Linked DNA regions of Homo sapiens: regions 1, 2 and 4 are each linked to region 3. Evidence: promoter capture Hi-C in 16 types of primary human blood cells and fetal thymus (Javierre and others, 2016). All regions are on one chromosome and are shown on one strand. The core of a region is centred on a gene start or on the middle of the fragment in contact, and the rest is flanking DNA. Distances in the headings are between cores, read along the strand shown. Region 1 has its middle 250 kb from the start of SLC24A2. Region 2 holds the start of IFNA2 (interferon alpha 2). Region 3 holds the start of MLLT3 (MLLT3 super elongation complex subunit). Region 4 has its middle 180 kb from the start of SLC24A2.

The links. Contacts are between HindIII fragments. The CHiCAGO score rates a contact against its expected background, and 5 or more counts as called.
Region 1: a contact is called between a fragment that was not itself captured here and the fragment with the promoter of MLLT3 in region 3, in 4 of 17 cell types (non-activated CD4 T cells, total B cells, naive CD8 T cells and 1 more). The highest score is 6.9, in non-activated CD4 T cells.
Region 2: the fragment with the promoter of IFNA2 here is called in contact with the fragment with the promoter of MLLT3 in region 3 in 2 of 17 cell types (total B cells and monocytes); the score reaches 8.6 in total B cells.
Region 4: a fragment that was not itself captured here is called in contact with the fragment with the promoter of MLLT3 in region 3 in 1 of 17 cell types (naive CD4 T cells); the score reaches 5.1 in naive CD4 T cells.

Annotation. Positions count from the first base shown.
Region 1 is chr9:20,040,717-20,043,774 of GRCh38, reverse strand. It overlaps a transcript of SLC24A2 not described here. Among named protein-coding and RNA genes, the nearest start is that of SLC24A2, 250 kb to the right of the region's middle. The HindIII fragment of the contact is 2,219 bases long and covers 658-2,876 here.
Region 2 is chr9:21,383,542-21,386,863 of GRCh38, reverse strand. IFNA2 (interferon alpha 2) reads left to right here and starts at 1,466. Exons shown (of 1, transcript NM_000605.4): 1 at 1,466-2,609. The coding sequence starts at 1,535. The coding sequence ends at 2,101. The HindIII fragment of the contact is 9,842 bases long and covers 1-3,322 here.
Region 3 is chr9:20,620,804-20,623,860 of GRCh38, reverse strand. MLLT3 (MLLT3 super elongation complex subunit) reads left to right here and starts at 1,362. Exons shown (of 11, transcript NM_004529.4): 1 at 1,362-1,616; 2 at 3,027-3,057. The coding sequence starts at 1,605. RefSeq lists silencers at 764-903, 924-1,383, 1,804-1,953, 2,024-2,073 and an enhancer at 3,004-3,057. The HindIII fragment of the contact is 2,564 bases long and covers 626-3,057 here.
Region 4 is chr9:19,967,585-19,970,556 of GRCh38, reverse strand. It overlaps a transcript of SLC24A2 not described here and the pseudogene GLRX3P1. Among named protein-coding and RNA genes, the nearest start is that of SLC24A2, 180 kb to the right of the region's middle. RefSeq lists an enhancer at 2,048-2,887. The HindIII fragment of the contact is 3,026 bases long and covers 33-2,972 here.

The DNA.
Region 1 (3,058 bases), core at 518-3,017, 580 kb after region 3:
TATTGCATCTCAATAAACTACTTTCTTTCCTCCTCCATAAGAAGCAATTCCTTATCTGTTCAAGTTTTGTCATGAGATTGTGGCCATTCGGTGCCATCTTCAGGTTTCACTTCTAATTCAAGTTCTCTTACTATTCCCACCACATCTGCAGTGACTTTCTCACTGAAGTCTTAAACCTCTCAAGGTCATCTATGAGGGCTGGAATCAGCTTCTTCCAAACTCCCATTAATGTTGATGTTTTGATCTCCTGGTATGAATCACAAATGCCCTTAATGGCATCCAGAATAGTGAATCCTTTCCAGAAGCTTTTCAATATACTTTGTCCAGATCCATCAGAGAGAATCACTATCTATGGCAGCTATCACCTTACAAAATGTACTTTCTAAATAATGAGACTTGAAAGTCAAAATTACTGCTTGACACATGGGCTGCAGAATGGGTGTTGTGTTAGCAGGCAAGAAAACAACATTCATCACTCTGTATATCTCCATATAGGTAATAAGTTTGTTTCACTTTCTTTTCGTTCTTTTGCTCACTGGAGTAGCACTTTTAATTTCCTTCAAGAACATTTCCTTTACATTTATACCTTTGCTAACTGGTGCAAGAGCCCTAGCTTTTGGCGTGTCTCAGCTTTCGACATGCCTTCCTCACTAAGCTTAATCATTTGTGGCTTTTGAATTAAAGTGAAAGGTGTGTGACTCTTTCTTTCACCTGAACACCTACAGGCCATTGTAGGGTTATTAATTGGTCCAATTTCCATATCGTGTCTAGGAAATAGGGAGACCCAAGGAGAAGGAGAGAAATGGGGAAAAGCCAGTCATTGGAGCCATTAAAATACACATAACATTTATCAATTAAGTTTTCCATCTTACATGGGCATGGCTTGTGGTGCCTCAAAGCAATTAAAATAGTGACATCAAAGATTACTGGTCACAGACCACCACAACAGATAAAATAATAATGAAAAAGTTTGAAATATTGCAAGCATTATCAAAACATGACACAGAGACATGAAGTGAGCACATGCTGTTGGAAAAATGGCACATAGATATTGTTGCCACAAACCTTCAATTTGTAAAAAACACACTACCTGCAAAGTGCAATAAAGCAAAGCACAATAAAAGGAGGTATGCCTGCATTCTCTGCTACTGAAAAGGAGAATATTGGAAGGATAAATGAACATGTCCCTTAGCAATAAGGCCTAGGACCCAGAAGGAAGGCCATGTCCTCTCACCCCTACCTTGGTGGGTGCTTTCTCCCATGACTCAGTCCCCTAGGGTTAGATAACTTTGGTTTTCATTCTTACTTCAGAAATCTTAGATCTAGGATTGCAGAATCAAGCTGTCAGCTCTAAAAGTCCTCTATAACATTTCTTCCAGAAGGCTCAGATGTCCTTATGCAAATGAAATCCTTGATGCTTTCTCAGATATTCCAGAGTTCCTCAGGGGTGTACACTCAGTTCAGATTTCTCTCTTGTGACTGTATCTTTAAGTGAAGTTGTTCTTTTCCTTTCCCTAGACACCACAAATGTCCACCATTTCTTCCTGCTTATTATTTAAATATACTTAGAGGCTGCCTTCTGGAAAGTGCTGGACTCATGGCAGGTTGGAGATCTCCAGAGCTGTGCCCTCTTGACCCCAGCCAATTCCTGCCACAGTCTGCCCACCAGGGACAGTGCTCCCCTCAGTGGCACATTTGCCAGGCCAGGAAGTACCAGGCAAATGTCCCACCACAAGATGACAGGCTCCCCACCACAGGTGCCAGACTCTTCTCCTTTGTCTCATGGTAGCGCTTGTAGCTGCTGCGGCCACAGTGCAGAGTCTGGCACCTGAGGGGACAGAAAGGGGGGCTCTCGGCAGCAAGCCTACCTGTCAAGTGCTTCTGGGATTAGGAGTGCGCATTGCCAACTCCCCACTCTGGAAGAACTTGATGGGTGGGCATCCTGCCAAGAGGCAGAGCTCAAAGCCCTTCTGTGCATGTGCTTCTTAGACCCCCGACTGGCTACTTAGCCATTTGGCCAGATACCAACTTCTCCAGCAGTGTTTTTGAGCCCTGCCCATCTTTCCTTTGGCTGAATTGAGCAGACCTCCTATCAAATACTATCAATTTTCCTTCATATGTATGAGGCAGACCCTGAAGCAGTTTGTTGGGTTGGGTCCATGTCTTTCCTCTATCGTAACTGCCCTCTCTCCCTCCCCACCACTGATTTTGATGATACAAGGCTGGTTTTGTTCTTTGGAAACAAAACCCCTGTCCTGGGTGGATGTTCCAAGTCAGAAAGCCTGGCTGTGTTTATCCCAGGCCATTGGCTGGGCATGCACATGCTTTTTGTATTTGGTAAGTGACAGTATTTGCAAAAGCTGATTGCCACAGCAGGCGGAACAGAGACAAGACTAGCAAAAACATGTGTCGGTAACATATGCTGTAGCCTTTTCTTCTTTGCTTGGAGGACTGACACTTCCTACAGGAAGAAGTAATTATTTTGCATGTGCATAGATTACACTGGAATGAAAAAGACAGAGGAGGGGCTGCTGCTTTGTATATGAAAGAAGAAATACCTCCCTATCTCTCTTTCTTTTTCTCATGCATGCTTCTGCGCGCACACGTGCGCACGCGCGCACGCGTACACACACGCACTCTCTCTCTTTCTCTCTCCTCATTCTCATATGCAAGCACACAGGTTAACCTGCTTTATTTTTAGACATTGCTTCTTTAAAAGAAAGTCGATGTCCTAAAAAAAATTCAGAGCCTGTAATTAGCAGAGCTGCCCTTTTTAGGAGAGAATAAAAGCATTACGTTAGGAATTAAACAGATCTGTGCACAGGTCCTGTCTCCCCTTCATATAGGTTGTGTGACCCATAGAAAATTATTAAGCTTCTAACCCTTGTCTGCCACAGGTAGACAAACGGCTCAACTCTTAGGCTTGTTGTGAGGATTAAAACTACAAAATACATGTGGAAAGCAGCTTGTGTAGGCTCTGGGGCTGTGCTGTCCTTTCCCTTCCCTGGGTTAGCTTTCCAGAAGGAAAAATAATTGTAAATAGCCATGATGCATCTTC
Region 2 (3,322 bases), core at 217-2,716, 760 kb before region 3:
TCTAGAACCATTCTTGTATTTCTTCATGGTTTTTGTATTTCTTCATGGAACCATGAAGAAATACAAAATGTGAACAGGCCAATAACAAGTAATGAGACAGAAGCCATACTAAAAAGTATCCCAGAAAAGAACTCAGGATCTGATGGCTTCACTGATGAATTTTGCCAAATATTTAAAAAACTAATACCAATCCAACTCAAATTATTAAAAAAATAGAGGTGGACAGAATCTTTCCAAATGTATTCTATGAGGCCAGTGTTTTTTCTGATTGAATCTCCCATTATATTTTAATCACATATAAAACCAGAGAAAGACACATTAAAAAGAAAGAAAACTGTAGGCCAATATCTCTGATGAACATTGATGCAGAAATCCTCAACAACAAATTAGCAAACTGAATTCAAGAACACATTAAAACAATCATTCATCATGACCAAGTGGAATTTGTCCTAGAGATTCAAGTGTGGTTAGGTATGTGCAGATCAATGGGTTTAATGTTGTCCAATGAACATAATGTCCTCCAGCTCCATCCATGTTCTTGCAAATGACAGGATCTCATTCTTTTTTATGGCTAAGTAGTACTCCATTGTGTATAAGTGCCATATTTTCTTTATCCATTCATCTGTTAGACACCTAAGTTGCTTCCAAATCTTAGCTATTGTGAATAGTGCTGCAATAAACATGGGAGTGTAAATATTTTGTTGACATACTGATTTCATTTCCTTTGGATAAATACCCAGTAGTGGGATTGCTGGATCATATGGGGGAAAATGGAGATGGCTAACGGGCACAAAAATATAGTTAGAAAAAATGAATATGATTTAGTATTCGATAGCACAATAGGATGACTACTGTTAATGATAATTTATTATATATTATAAAATAACTAAAATAGTATAAATGGGATGTATGTAGCAGAGAGAAATGATAAATGTTTGAAGCATTGGATACTCCATTCACCCTGCTGTGATTATTATGAATTGTCTGCCTATATAAAAATATTTCACTTATTCCATAAACACAGACGCCTCTTATGTACCCACAAAAATCTATTTTCAAAAAAGTTGCTCTAAGAATATAGTTATCAAGTTAAGTAAAATGTCAATAGCCTTTTAATTTAATTTTTAATTGTTTTATCATTCTTTGCAATAATAAAACATTAACTTTATACTTTTTAATTTAATGTATAGAATAGAGATATACATAGGATATGTAAATAGATACACAGTGTATATGTGATTAAAATATAATGGGAGATTCAATCAGAAAAAAGTTTCTAAAAAGGCTCTGGGGTAAAAGAGGAAGGAAACAATAATGAAAAAAATGTGGTGAGAAAAACAGCTGAAAACCCATGTAAAGAGTGCATAAAGAAAGCAAAAAGAGAAGTAGAAAGTAACACAGGGGCATTTGGAAAATGTAAACGAGTATGTTCCCTATTTAAGGCTAGGCACAAAGCAAGGTCTTCAGAGAACCTGGAGCCTAAGGTTTAGGCTCACCCATTTCAACCAGTCTAGCAGCATCTGCAACATCTACAATGGCCTTGACCTTTGCTTTACTGGTGGCCCTCCTGGTGCTCAGCTGCAAGTCAAGCTGCTCTGTGGGCTGTGATCTGCCTCAAACCCACAGCCTGGGTAGCAGGAGGACCTTGATGCTCCTGGCACAGATGAGGAGAATCTCTCTTTTCTCCTGCTTGAAGGACAGACATGACTTTGGATTTCCCCAGGAGGAGTTTGGCAACCAGTTCCAAAAGGCTGAAACCATCCCTGTCCTCCATGAGATGATCCAGCAGATCTTCAATCTCTTCAGCACAAAGGACTCATCTGCTGCTTGGGATGAGACCCTCCTAGACAAATTCTACACTGAACTCTACCAGCAGCTGAATGACCTGGAAGCCTGTGTGATACAGGGGGTGGGGGTGACAGAGACTCCCCTGATGAAGGAGGACTCCATTCTGGCTGTGAGGAAATACTTCCAAAGAATCACTCTCTATCTGAAAGAGAAGAAATACAGCCCTTGTGCCTGGGAGGTTGTCAGAGCAGAAATCATGAGATCTTTTTCTTTGTCAACAAACTTGCAAGAAAGTTTAAGAAGTAAGGAATGAAAACTGGTTCAACATGGAAATGATTTTCATTGATTCGTATGCCAGCTCACCTTTTTATGATCTGCCATTTCAAAGACTCATGTTTCTGCTATGACCATGACACGATTTAAATCTTTTCAAATGTTTTTAGGAGTATTAATCAACATTGTATTCAGCTCTTAAGGCACTAGTCCCTTACAGAGGACCATGCTGACTGATCCATTATCTATTTAAATATTTTTAAAATATTATTTATTTAACTATTTATAAAACAACTTATTTTTGTTCATATTATGTCATGTGCACCTTTGCACAGTGGTTAATGTAATAAAATATGTTCTTTGTATTTGGTAAATTTATTTTGTGTTGTTCATTGAACTTTTGCTATGGAAACTTTTGTACTTGTTTATTCTTTAAAATGAAATTCCAAGCCTAATTGTGCAACCTGATTACAGAATAACTGGTACACTTCATTTATCCATCAATATTATATTCAAGATATAAGTAAAAATAAACTTTCTGTAAACCAGGTTGTATGTTGTACTCAAGATAACAAGGTGAACCTAACAAATACAATTCTGCTCTCTTGTGTATTTGATTTTTGTATGAAAAAAACTAAAAATGGTAATCATACTTAATTATCAGTTATGGTAAATGGTATGAAGAGAAGAAGGAACAACCGATGATTTCTCTCTGCAGAAGGTAGATTGAGGCATGTGAGGAAATAAAAATAAGACAGAGACATTCTCTTTAAATTGACTAGTATACATCTATTAGAAAATGTCCATTGCCAGTTAGATATATAAGTTTGCAATTTGCAAGGAATGCGATTGCTGGGGGTTTATATGTGATAAGAGAAAGCCAAGAAATGAAGGTCATGGTGTTGGGAGAGAGTGTAGAGAGAGAAAAAGTTTTAAACATGATTCTGAGGACCTTTCGCTTTTAAAGGGAGGGGAGAGAAAAGCCGCAAAGGAAACATCCACAGCCACAAAGGAATGGCTGTACATTAGAAGGCAACAGCAGAGAAAGATAATGAAAGTGTATTTAGGAAGATAAATGCTTCAGCCCAGGAGTTCAAGGCTGCAGTGAGCCATGATCACAATACTGTACTCGAGCCTGGGAGACAGAGGGAGAGTGACCCCATCTCAAAATAACAAACAAACAAAAGGAAATAAATGTGCCGAGAAGAGGATTCAGTCGATTTGCCCAAGGTGTGGCTTGAAACTGCCTACTAATTGGGAA
Region 3 (3,057 bases), core at 113-2,612:
TCAAGGTTCAGCAAGAAGTTGGAAGGCGAGGGAAAAAGGGGAGTAAAGAGAAGGCAAAAGAGGTCTAAGGGCTAGGAAGATGCAAGGATCTTTTTTTAACGAACCAAAGTCACATCCATCTTTCACTTTCAAATCAATCGTCTAGATCTTATCCGTTTCCTTTTTAAAGGTTATCTGCGTCTGTAAAGGAAGCCAGTAGTTGATACTCCTCTCCGCGCCCCACGCGTGGCCGCGCTGTTCTATCTCCGGCCACTGAGATCAAATACAACGCGAGTGAGAACATTTGCAGAGGCGCGACTCTGGGAACACTCCTGCGACTGGCTGTCACCCGGGAGTCTAACCGGATTAATACTCAGAGATGGATTACGCTGGTTGTCACCAATACGCCTAAAGATTATAATCCAATTTACGCACATTACAGTCAGTATTAACTTTATCTGCTATTTTAAGACTCCCGGTTGCCCCGCGCGTCCTCAGAGGACAATCCTCCACGTTCTGATGCAACTCAGTAGGCTGTCAGGAGGGGAAGCCCCCCGAAGAAAACAACTCCAAGCCTGGTCCCCGAGGGTCTGTACCCGGCACTCCCAGGTGTCTTGCTTTCACCTGGGCACCGCTTTATGAAGCTTCCCAGCCGGGGATTACCAAAGCGGAAGGCGTTCCCTTGCAAGGAAATAGCATCCTTGTTTCTCCCTTGTTCATTTCATTTTCAAATTTTCGGTGGCGGTGGCAGAAGGGCGGGGAGTGAGGGTGGCGGGCGGGTGCCTGTGAGTGGATGGGGCAGGGGGCCAGGGGATCGTTGCGGGTTAGAACAGCCTCAGTCATTGCTATTTTCATGCTCGTTTTTTGCAGGATGGCATTTCTCTCGCTCTCTTTAAGTAAGTTTGTTTGGGTGTGAGTTCTTGTCTTTTCAGCACAAAACCACAGAAATACGTGGTGGAAAGTAAAAGAAAGCCCACTCCCTCCTCCCCGTGCGTACTAGCTAAGGACTTGATTTAACACCCCCTCTCCGGCTGCTGAGGGCTCTAAGCAGTGGCTACATTCCAGCAGTTTTAATCCGTTTTTTATTGTAGGGCGAGCAGAGTTTACACAGGGGCTGGGATGGCTCCCCAGCTGGCCGCTCTCCCCACTCCTGCGTCCCCTCCCTGCCACCCCCCCAGCAGGAACCTGTTACTTTAAGCGAGGCTTTCCAGTGTGGCGCTGCGGGCCGCCGGGGTTTCGGGAGGTGGCAGGTGATTGGCTCTTTCGAGCTCCCCCTGGCTCGCTCGCTCTGCCTCCCCGCGCGCTCCGCCCCGCCCGCAAGCCCTCCCTCCGCCCTGTGAGGCTCGGAGCCCGGGTGTCAGGCGCCACGGCGCATGCTCCGCAATCATCTTCTTTACCCTGGAGCTGCTGCTGCTGCTGCTGCTTTTGCTTTTGGGGCTGAGTTTAATAAGCGAGCGAGCGAGCAAGCGAGCGCGGGGGGAAAAAGGCAGAGAATGTCCGCCATCTACCCTCCGCTCCTGGGCGCGCTCTCATTCATAGCAGCCTCTTCATGAATTACAGCTGAGGGGGGGCGGAGGAGGGGGGGGTACCACACAACACCCCAGCAAACCTCCGGGCCCCCAGGCATGGCTAGCTCGGTAAGTACGCGCAAAAATAATAATAAAAGCCCTCCCCCACTTTCCTTCCTCGCCCTGCGCCGCCGCAGCCCAGACAGCGCCAGCGCTCCGCGGTTCCAATTAGAGAAAGGTTGGTACGGCTTGCAGGGAGCTGCCGCCTCTCCCTCAGCCTCCGCTCCCCTCCTCCCCCACCCCCCCCCGGCGCGCACACAGACACACAGACACACACACACTCACACACGCTCACACTCGCCCCTCCACCCCCCGCGCCTCCCTCCCTCCTCGCCTCTTTGCAGTCACAAGAAGCGCACTCACACACTCCCTCTCGCTCACACGCGCGCACTCACACACACACACACACACGGTGGAAGGAGGCGAATAATAACTCAGCCATATTTCAGCCGCCGCCGCCGGGAGCTGCGGGCACAGTCCGGGGACGCGGCGAGCAGCCTCGGCGGCCGCACCTCCGCAAAGCGCCGCGGCCGCTACGATGGTGCGTTCTCCGCGGCGCGCGTGTGTGAGCCGAAGTGTGCGGGGCTGACAGCGGCGGGGCCGCACGCAACTTTGCCCCAGCGCCGGGAGGTGCTGAGCGCGAGCCGAGGCTCGGCGGCTGTCCGCCCGCCGCCCTGCCTTTCTGAATTTCATTTTTTGGGGGGAGGTGGGAGATACTTTGGAGCCACTTGGGCTCTTGAAAGTGTGTTGCGGGGGCTCGGTTCGACTGGCCTCGCCGATCGCGTGGGGCTTTTCGCTGGGGGGTGCGGGGTGCTCTAAGTTATGGATGCCTCGGCGTGTTTTCCTGCGGGCGTGTGTGTGTGTTTCAGTGTGTATGACGACGTCTCATTTTTGTTGTGCACGAACCCCGTGGCAAGAGCACGGGAGTTTGTGCCCATCAGCAGAGGCTGCCTGTAGTTTCCATTTCGCCTGGCACAGCGCTCCACACGCACGCACACACACGTACACAAAGACTTCCTCGGCGTGTGCCTGTCGCCGCGGTACTTTCGGGGAGGGGGCTCGCCAGGAGCCCTTCGGTCCCCCTGGGTCCCAGCCACCTCCCCTCCCACGCCGGGAAACCGCCCCGGCATCGCCTTCTGATTTGTTTCCGATGCATTTGTTGTCGTGCTTGTCGTGGCTGAGTGTGTTCTCCCTCTTTTCCCCGACCCCCTTCCCGACTGGGGATAACATTCCGTTACAATCCTGTCCGATGTAGATGCGGGGCCCGGGGCGCCTGGGGCCAAGCCGGGCCGGGCGGGCGGGTATATTTGGGGGTGTGGAGTGTGCGCGCCCACGCGCGTGAAACGTGGATGCAGAGGGCACCGCCGTTTCCTTTTATGTGCGTTTCAAGAAGGAGGAAAAAAATGTCAGGCGCAACGTTCACTGCCGAAACCTCGCCTTCCTGTTATTCACGGCTGTCTCTCCTCCCCCTGCCCGCAGTGTGCCGTGCAGGTGAAGCTGGAGCTGGGGC
Region 4 (2,972 bases), core at 296-2,795, 650 kb after region 3:
TCTCATAAAACTTGCAGAATTCAAAATAAGCTTTCCTACTGGAGGCAGACTCTCAGGGAGATTTTCTGTGTTAGGAATTTGATATTTTCCTTTCAAATAAGAAAAAGAAAAAACACTCACACACCTGTATTTTCTCTTTCTGAAGTTACTTCACAACTAAATGGAGTATTACTATTTCCATTTCTTGAGGGAGACAATTATTTTAATTTACATAAAACTTGGTGACATCTTAGACAAAGGGAAATATGTACTCCCCCTGCTATCAGTTAACTCTCCAGTTAGTGACTTTGTGGAAGGATTCCTGAAAAATATCAGTGATTTCAGAAAGGGTTCCCTTCCACTTTCAGGGGAAAATCAGAACCTCCTCATTCACCTTGCAATAAAGGAGCTACCTGGTCATATCTGTGGTTATGCGTGGAGGGGTGATGGGGGCAGTGAGAAGGGAAGGGGCCTTGTCCAGACTGCAGCTTGCTTGCTGTTGCTCTCAGCCCATTATTTGTGCTGAATAAGGTCAGGTAGAGGATTCCTTCTGAAGATGTGTGAAGCAAGGCCACAGAAATATGTAAAGGTGGTATCATGATGTCCTGTAGTCTCTCCCACTCTTCCCCATATTTATGTCACTGACTCACACTCTTGCACAGACACTTTATATTGCAATCCCTAGTATAGCTCATAACTCCTATTGGGACCAGTCTTCATCCCTTTTGTTATGATATTCTCAACAATTGGATTTTGTTTGACTCAGGTCAAAAAGCCTTGAGTTAGTATTTTAACCAAGTCACTTACAAGCTCTATGATCTTTAATATTTGAAGTAATTATGTGAATTTCCTACAATCCCCTCTTCATCACTGCTCTCTCTCTCTGTCTTCCAACTTTCTACCGCCTTGCTTCTTGGTTCTTTTCTTACTACTGTAGCCTCAATCCTCACAGGCATTGCCTATCCAGGAGAGAAAAAGAGGCACTGGAAGTAGCTAAATCTTAAATTAGAAGGTGGAACTTACTGTGGACATCTCTGCAGAAAAGCAGTAATGTGTGAGGAGTGAAGAGACACCAGAAGAAAGGAAGAGGGAGCATGGACTTTCATATTGAAGAGAAAGGGAGTGTGGAATTTTTTTGTGCTTTATTGGCATGAGACTCAGACTTTCAGAGAGATAGTGAGACTGAAATGACTTTGGTTTTTATGGAAATTATCATTTAACTTTGATCTTGAGGGAATGTCACTGAGCCAAGTTCTGAAGTTTAGGTTTTGGGGGAGGGAGTGGAGGCTGTGAGACAGAAGAGATGAAAAAGGAAAAGAATGAAGGAAATTCTTCATTCTGGGAGGAAGAAGTGTGTGTGTGTGTGTGTGTGTGTGTGTGTGTGTGTGTGTGTGGCAAAGGAGGTGGCGGACGCAGAGGTTAGGGAATTCCCTTTTCCTCCCTGGCCTCAGGAATTCAGGTTTAAAACACAAGAAGCCTTAGAGAAGCTGAAAGAAAGCTGTTCTTAATTGCCTCAGTTCCGTGCTAGTTATAAACACTGGAAAGAAAATGGGATTGAAGAATGTCTGGTAGAACAGCCACTGTAAACCTTTTATTATCATATTTGTGGCTTCTGGGGTATGACTTTAATGCCATCTTTTAAGATGTTACTTAAGCAATTGTGTTTAAATTTCAAAAACCTATCCCAAGTATTTCTTTTCTCCCTTCAGTTAATTTTCCATTTATATAAATGATTTCCTTGCTGCAGAAACTCATGCCTTGAGATGAATGCACAGTTTGAATATTTTCACATTTGGAGCAATCTGTTAATGACGTAAAATAATATATAGAGAAAAAGCAGAGCATTAGAGGGCCAAGGACCTCTGTAAATGTTCTGATGCCAGCTAGTCACAGCTGGCTGTGTGACCTTGGGTGAAGTCCTTAACTTCTCTAAGTCTTAACTCCTACATGTGCACTACATGAATGGGAAAGGCTTTCCAGCTCTAAATATTTGTTTCATAATTGGTCTTGAGGTCAATATAACACCTAAAACAAAGTTAGTATGAAATACAAGTCTATCCACTTCTTAGAGTCTGTGGACCTTATTTCTATAAGCAAATTAACTTCTCCAAATTCCAATTTCCTCATCTATAAAATGGAAATTGTAATACAGTTTTGTATCTATCTTGTTAGCCTTGTTGTGAGGTTTGCATGAGAAAATGTTTGCAAACAGTTTAGCATAGTGACTGGCACTTAGTAAGTGCTCCAAGGATGTAGGTTAAAAAGAAAAGAAAACAAAAGCTGCTGTGTTTCAGAGTCAAATTACTCTCTGTGGCCCATGTGGGTCCCTGTGGGCTCCCTGGTGTGCTCAGATGAACAATGGAAAGCAGAGTTAGCATAACAAAGATGATGATGAAGATTATGATGATGAAAACAAACCAGGCTCTGTTCAAAGTGCTTTATTTGTATCAACTCATTTAATCTGAATACAAACCCTATAAGGTAGATAAAATTATCCTCCCTATTTTATAGGTGGGGAAACCAAGAGAGTAAGCAACTTACCCAATGCCATACCTCTGGGAAAGTAACCCTCTACTTCCATTAGTGAAGTTGAACTCTGACACTGCCCCTGAAGTATGTTTTTAAAAAAGTTATTTCAAATCCAACCTTTTTGGTTTTTCAAGGATGCTCAGAAAGTTAGCTGAATAAATAATGTCCAAGCCTGAATCAACCCAAAATTTCCATGCCTGTATTTTCCCACCTGGTGCTAATGAACATGCACAAGGAGATGGCAACATTTGTCTAATGACATTAACTAATGCTGCCCCCTGCATGGTGATTATGAGTGGAGCTGTGCTGTGGCTTCAGCAAGCAGGTGGTGGAAATTCTTAATGAAGATTGCATTCAGATTACAGTGTTTGGATATATCTTATGATGAGATTTGCTAAGGGCTCAAAACCTTTTCCAATTGGCTCACTTATCCTCAGAGCTAACAGGAGGGCTTGATATAAAGA